Linked DNA regions of Homo sapiens: region 1 is linked to region 2. The links are contacts of gene promoters, found by promoter capture Hi-C in blood cells and fetal thymus (Javierre and others, 2016). All regions are on one chromosome and are shown on one strand. The core of a region is centred on a gene start or on the middle of the fragment in contact, and the rest is flanking DNA. Distances in the headings are between cores, read along the strand shown.

What was found. The method cuts DNA at HindIII sites, captures the fragments that hold promoters and counts their contacts. A CHiCAGO score of 5 or more calls a contact.
Region 1: a contact is called between a fragment that was not itself captured here and the fragment with the promoter of KCNU1 in region 2, in 2 of 17 cell types (M2 macrophages and endothelial precursors). The highest score is 6.8, in M2 macrophages.

Annotation. Positions count from the first base shown.
Region 1 is chr8:33,798,591-33,802,182 of GRCh38, forward strand. The region is part of intron 2 of LOC105379364 (a long non-coding RNA gene); the gene reads left to right. Among named protein-coding and RNA genes, the nearest start is that of DUSP26, 200 kb to the left of the region's middle. The HindIII fragment of the contact is 4,467 bases long and covers 1-3,563 here.
Region 2 is chr8:36,782,874-36,786,766 of GRCh38, forward strand. It overlaps KCNU1 (potassium calcium-activated channel subfamily U member 1), which reads left to right and starts at 1,501. Exons shown (of 27, transcript NM_001031836.3): 1 at 1,501-1,732. The coding sequence starts at 1,538. The HindIII fragment of the contact is 1,918 bases long and covers 1-1,811 here.

The sequences.
Region 1 (3,592 bases), core at 80-2,579, 3.0 Mb before region 2:
AAATGGAATTTCACCATGTTGGCCAGGCTGGTCTCAAACTTCTGACCTCAGGTGATTCACCCACCTTGGACTCCCAAGGTGCTGGGATTACAGGTGTGAGCCACCATGCCTGGCCTCCACTGCTCATTTTTTAAAAAATCTAAATTTAAGAACAATCCATGAATTACTGGGGCAATTGCTTTTTTTGACAGATAATATAGCCATGGAAATTCCTTCTCAATCATTGTTCTGCTGACTAACTCAGGCCACCGTATTTACTGTAGGCTAAGGACAATGGGGGTTACATGGAAGCCACGATGTCTGTCTTACTGGAGGTTTTCTATCCATTGGAGAAACAAGAATATGTACATGGATAATTAAAGGATAGGATGAAGTAGCATTTGGTATGTGTACTGGGGGTGGCACAGACACTATGCTCCACGGGAATGAACTAATGATGGAGCTGGAGTGGTCAAGGAGAAGGTCATGGAGGAGGGCAGCTTTACTCCTACTGAATGGGATGGGGAGGATTTTGATGGGTGCAGAGAAGCAAAATTGCATTTCTAGTCTCATGTGTTATTGAGGCAGCATAGTTCAGGGGCTCTAAGAAAAGTTTCTGGAACAAGGCTGCTTGGGTTTAGATCCTGATTCTGCTACTTTTTAGCTGTAAATCTAAAGAAAAGTAGAAATTTGACTTCTCTGAGGTTTAGTTTTCTAATCTCTAAGGAGGTAGAAGGAGGAAAAGAGAATTTCAGTCAGGGTCCCAACAGGAAACAGATGGTGTCCTCTAAACAGGATGATTTATTTACAAGTATTAGTGCAGTAACGTGGAGCAGGAGCGGTGAGGGGAGAGGATAGGATATTATTATTAGATCCTTAGGATTGAGTGGGAAAGAAGGGTCCCTAGGAGCAGTAAGCCCAGTGTGGAGGAAGCCACCTCCAAAGAACAGTGCCCTTCAGGCTGGGGGCAGAACCAGCCTAAAGGAGCAGAGGGAAGGAGCCAGGACAAGCAAACACCTTCATTGCTCCATTGCTCTGATTTTTTGCCTGGCTTCATCCCTCTTTCCCTATGAACCCAGGAGCCCAATCAGGAAGCTACCATCTTGGGAAATGGATGAAACCATCCAGGTCAGGCTATCAGGATAAGAACCTGGAAGAGAATGGAAGAGTCTGGATCTGGAGAGGCAGACAGAAAGTGACCCAAGAGGGAACAGCAAAATGCGAATGATGTATTTTGTTAGGGAAAGGCTTGCTGCTTGACTCTAAGGCAGGGCGACAATAAATGTTGGAGAGAGATGTGGTAGGTTGAGACCCTGGGCTTCCCTGTTTGTTGCCTCCCCATGGTACTACACACTTTCCTTGAGGCAACTGTCTCTCAGGAACTTCTCTCCTTCTGCAGGCAGCAGTGCCTGTCTACATCCTTCTAGAGCTGCGTCCCTAGAACCACTTCAGCCTCCTTAGTAGCTGGGACTACAGGTATGCACCACCAGGCCTGACTAATTTTGTATTTTTTTGTAGAGACAGGGTTTTATCATGTTGCCCAGGCTGGTCTCGAACTCCTGAGCTCAAGTGATCCACCTGCGTTGGCCTCCCAAAGTGCTGATAGACTCTTCCTCCTTCCTTGCCTGTGGTTTTAAGAGCTGCCCTGATAACTGCAGCCTCGTTGGATTTTCTAGAAAGAAAGAGAGCTAGATTTAAAGCTGCTCCCTGAACCATAATCTCTGAGCTGTCATAGAGCCAGGCCATGTAATGCTTTGTTGCGGAAAAAAAGCTAATGTGACTCATTACAGCCTGATGCAGAGATTCCCTCTGACAGACACATGCGGTAATGGCTTGGAATGAACACACTCCTACGAACAATTGGAAAAGAGACTTCGCATTGTTCTTTTAGCCCATAATTGGTTAGCTGTAAAAAAGGACTGCATTGGTCGTACTACACATTTCCACTCTGAACAATGCCTTTATTGGATCAACTTAAATATATGAGGAATGAAGCAACCCAATGTCTGTATGTAGGTTTGAAAAACCAAGGTGTCCCTACAGCCAAGCCTTTAGGGGGTGCTGCTCTATTGCCTAACAGTTGTGTTTATGTTTCTCTTGCCATATTGAGCTTGACTCTCTCTTTCTACATAATGTTTTGGGGGGTAAAGGACTGTAGGGCTTGGGGACAAGCAGAAAATTACCCATTAGCAACTATCTCCATGAACAGATGCATTTGCCCCCTTCCCCGCCCTTACAGACAGAGCTTGAGAGGAAGATACCCACCAAGGGAAAGTTCTGAATTACATCTGTCTTGAAGTTTTAATTCTTTTTTCTTCCAGGTGCTAGTTCTGAGCCATTAAGCCCCAAATCAAGGGTGGTACTGCTTCCTTAGAGAAACAATGACATGGCAAGACATTATATTTCTTTCTAGAAAGTCATGCATTCATGCTCCTCTTATCCAAATTGTAGGCCACTGAGAAAGCTGGCTAATTGCAAAGGGGCTGGATTTCAGGGTGGGAAGAGTGAATGGGCCTTATTTTCTGATGAACACAGATGAAGTTGCAATTTGCCATCTTCAATCAACATCATCGGGAGGCATCAGCAAAGGCCACCCACTAACTGTGTTTTTGTAACAGAAATCTGAGATCCCTTCATATGACAGTTCTCAAGGTCAGCTTTCTGTGTTTTTCCATAGTGTCCTGCACTTATAGGATGATCTCAGATGAATTTGAATTGGTCTTCAATTTTGCTTTTGGATGCATATAAAATAATTCCTTTTGAAACAATACCCTCATGATTAAAAAACCACTGCAGCTAAAAATATTTAAATCAGGAAGAATCCCAAATAAAGAACTTGGCAAAACACATAAGATATGACAAAATTTTTGCTGGCAGAATATAAAATAGATATCAAAAGACTAAACTACACATACGGCACCATGAAGTGCTAGAGTTTTGCTTGGTATCGTTTTGCCCAAGATGTTTATACATCTCTATGTAACTGCAGCTAATCATATAAATTCTTTGTTTCAGTTTGAAATCTGCTCAGGTTGACACCTCCACTTTTGTGTTGATTTTCTCCCATCTTCTGATCTGTCTGCCTTTTTTATTTCTAAAGAATAAATTATTGGCAGAGCATGGGCTTGAGAAGCAGAGTTTTGATTCTCTTTAATTTTTTTCTTCTTTTCCTCATCTTCCTGTGCTTATCTCTGGCAACCCCTGATCTTAAACTCCAGACTTAACTCACATTATCTCAATAAACCCTTCTTGTTTTAATTCCCTGTCAGACTGATCTTTTCCTTTCCTCCCTCCTTCTTTTCCTCTCTATTTTTTATTTCTTTCCCTAGATGTCCTCCATTTTATGGGTCAACTATAAATTATAAACTGACACATATCATGGGTGGATTGTTCTGCTTGGTGGGCAAGGTGGTCACAACAGATTTCATGACATCAGCTTTTCCACTTAAAAGGGAAAGGCTTATCCTAAAACTAGGACCATTCTTTTCTTTTTGTTAAGACTTTCTCTGCCCAATTTCACTTTGGGCAAAGGAAAGTGTAAACAGTGATCATGGCTGTTATCCTCTCTCTACCCAAAACAGGGAAGCTTCACTCATGTTTTTGTTTGTTTATT
Region 2 (3,893 bases), core at 251-2,750:
CAGCGTGATGATTCCTCTTGGGCCTCTTCACCTGGTGTCAGGTTATCTTGGTAATAACTGGGGTGAACTAGGCCCTCCACTGGGCTCTGACATTTTGCCTGCCACTTGTGCACACTGAAAGGCATGACATTTCTTACACCTTTGAAAACATCAGGGAAAATCAAAGAAATTTCTCTCATTCTGAACTTTACCTCTGCTGGGCCAAAAGGTTTGCTGCCAGGGCAGTAATAAAAGCAAGAAAGGGGAGAGTTCCATAAAGAAGAGATAAGTGGAATGGATTTATGGGCTGAAATAACAATCAACCAATGACCACACTAGTTAAATTGTCTTCTTCAATACCTGCACTCTATACTATGCCTTTCTTATGTAAAGAATAAACAAAACCTTTTTTTTTCTGTTTCAAGATAATCTTGATTTTCATTGTGTGTAATTAAGGAGTACAACGTGATATTCTTTGGATTGATGCACAGCAGATACACATATTTTCAAGTCACGTGATAATTTAATACATTCACATAATTTGTGTACTTGGGATATCAATCAACTTACATATTTGTATTTTCTTTGTGCTAGAAACATTCAAATTTTTCTCTTCTAGCTATTTTTAAATGTACAATAGATTATCATAAGCTATAGTCACTTCACTGATCTATAGAACATTAGATGTTATTTCTTCTATCAAACCAAATATTTGTACCCATTAATCAACTTCTCTTTATCCAACTTCTTTCCTCAGCCACCCTTCCCGGCATCTCGTAACCATGAATCTACTCTCTATCTTTATGAGATCCACTGTTTTAGCTTCCGCATACAAGTACAAACGCAAAATGCTCTTTTGATAAACTTATGCATAGTGAAGCAGTGACTACAGTCAAGCAAATTCATATATCTATCATCTCACAGAGTTAATCATCTTTTGTGTGCGTGTAACAAGAGCCCTTAAAATCTACTCTTTTAGCAAAAATCCTGAATACAAATAATTTTATTAATTATGTTCTTTGTTCTGCACACTAGATCTTCTAGACTTATTCATTCTGCATATCTGCTCCTTTGTATAAAGGATAAACAAAAACTTTAAAGTACTTCTCTCTTCTGTCCTTCCAAGCCTACTAAGCACGTGGCATCCTCCCAGATAGAGAACCAACTCATTCACACACATAGTTGGCTGTTGTTTCACTCCGAAAGAGTTGATTTGAAATTATTTGACTGCATTAACTGAACTGATAACCAGCTGATCATTGCTACAGATAATGGGATTTCTTCAAGGCATAGAGAAAGTCGTAACAATCCGATCTAGAATTATGATTTTTTTGACTATTCATATTGTAGGCCCCAGCCATCTCCAGTTGTGTATTCATTCACAACCCATGAGCTGGCACCGGGGGATTGGCAGACCCTTGTTCCTGGAACTTCTCACTGGTTATCACGCCTAATGTTGGAACACTGTGGTACAGTGAACTCTGATTCCTGGAATTGTTACCAGGCGACCACGGCGTCATCAAATGACCTGGCAATTCCGTCTACTGATGTCTCGAACATGTTTCAGACTAAGCTACGAAATGAAACTTGGGAAGACTTGCCAAAAATGTCCTGCACAACTGAGATCCAAGCAGCATTCATTCTCTCTTCCTTTGTGACCTTCTTCAGTGGACTCATCATCCTGTTGATCTTCAGGCTGATCTGGAGATCTGTTAAAAAATGGCAAATCATCAAGGGAACAGGAATTATCTTGGTCAGTTTCCTTGTTAGGGATCCCTCTGTGTGAAGTCAGAGATGAGTTTGGGGTAGTTTTGTGTTTAGTAAAAGATCTAAGCTTCATTCAGTTTTTCAAGCTAACAGAGTCAGCTTCTATAGCCTGGTGCCTCAGAAAGGGTGGTAAGCCAGACCTCAGGCCACATTCTGAGGCCTGAAGAGACAGGGCCAAGCCTCTTCTCTCTCCCATCACTGGAAAAAGCAATGTCTTGTATGGATAATGATTAATGTTAGCTCTGGAAACAGAGGTCACTGTTCTGAAAAAAAGTTCATAAACATTATGTCCATGCCTCTATCTCGAATTTTAACAAGACAATTGTGCTAGGTCATAGAAAGGAGGTGAAAGGGAACAAGACATCAACATCAACCTTGCTTTCATAAATTGTTCATGCATAATGCATATGTACTGACGTGTACATTGCCTTTTGTATACCATATGAAGACAACACATTGAGTTGCACATACACAGAGAAGCCCATGCATACATGCCTGTGCCATCCAGGCATAGATGCAAGGACATTTCTTATACCCAAACAAGCTTAGCAGGAGTTGATGTTGTTGAATAACAGCTGGCAAATGATGATGATGAGAATAAATGATGTATTATACAGATAAGGCATTGCTTAAGAGCTTGAAATAAAGCTCTCAAATGCTGTGTAATGGATGTTCTATTACCAGAGGTCAAAGGTGAAGAGTTTTACTATACCCTGTGTAGTTTGTTTCCAATTTTGCTTCCCAAACTTTCTTTCTCTGATAGATTATAGCAATTTCCATAACACAACACATTTCACCTGTGCATCATAATATTGAAAATTTGCTTAAAACATTTCTTTTAGTGCTAAAACCTACATAAAATATAATTCATAAATTGATAAGTTTTTAAAGTTATTGGTAATATGGAATTTTGTTTTCCATATTTGAAAATTATCCAATACTGAAGCTTATAGATTTTGTTCCTAAACAAGTTTATTCTATTGATTATTTCTACATTATGGATTTTAAGCTGTGGCACAATAATTGGAGAAAGAATTCTGGGATACTGACATATGGGTAAATAGCTATGATGGATCTGCCTCCTTGTTTCTACCTTGTTTTGTTGTTGTTAATGCACAACTGAATTTGTAGGATTTTTAAATCTTCTTAGTCTTCTGCTCCAGGCAATGTTCTTCTTCTCCATTATGTTCATTTTGTGTGATTACAAAAATGTGACAGTACATTTGTCAATTTCCTATATTTTTCATTTCTTACTTTGGGTGTAATTTATGTCTACACTTCGATCCAGGTATACCCTTTAATTACAAATATTTAGCAAATGTTACAAAATGTTAAGAAGTGAGCCTGAGCAACCAGAATGCTGTACCATTCTGCTTTTGAATCTTGAGGAAAGAGTTTGATCAAGTTGAGTTACTTTTCAATGATTTGTTTTATTACATCAAATTAAGAGTGACCTGTTTTTCTCTAAGCCTTTGGAGAAGTTGGACAAATGCAAAAAAAAAAAAAAATCAGAAATCTAGGTGTACTGTGAAGAGTTATTTTAAAAATTATTTGGAGAGTTACAATTTCTCTCCTTAAATGTGCATTTAAAACATGTATTACATCTATAAATATGAGTTTATTATATCTTAGGACCAATTTGTTTTTCCACAGAAGGTAGCTCCAATTTTATGATGGAATTCAAATGAGTATTCTATATTAATGTCATACCTAGGATTTTTTAAAATTAATTCTCAGACAACATTTAGAAACCGACATGAGTCATGTTTATTAGAGGGCAAATCATTGATCAGGATGTGAACTTTTATCAAAGAGTTTTTTAATGAGACTTCCCTTTTTATCATTCAGAAAATATGAGTAGAAAAATTAAGTGATTTTGAAATCCTGGCTTCATATAAAATGAGCTTTTTTGAAAGTCAGAGGGACTCATCTAGCTTGGTGTGGGTAGTCCTAGTTGGTTTGTGTATTTCTTTGTGGTGGTTCTAGACTATTATCAACAAACAATGAATGCCAGCTCAGGCCCCAGCCTTTCCTCATTGCCTGATATTAGGAAAGTCATTTAATTTCTCTATACCTTGGTATCCACATCAATATAAAATGTATTTAGTCATGCCTAACTTTATCATATGAGATTACCGTAACATTTA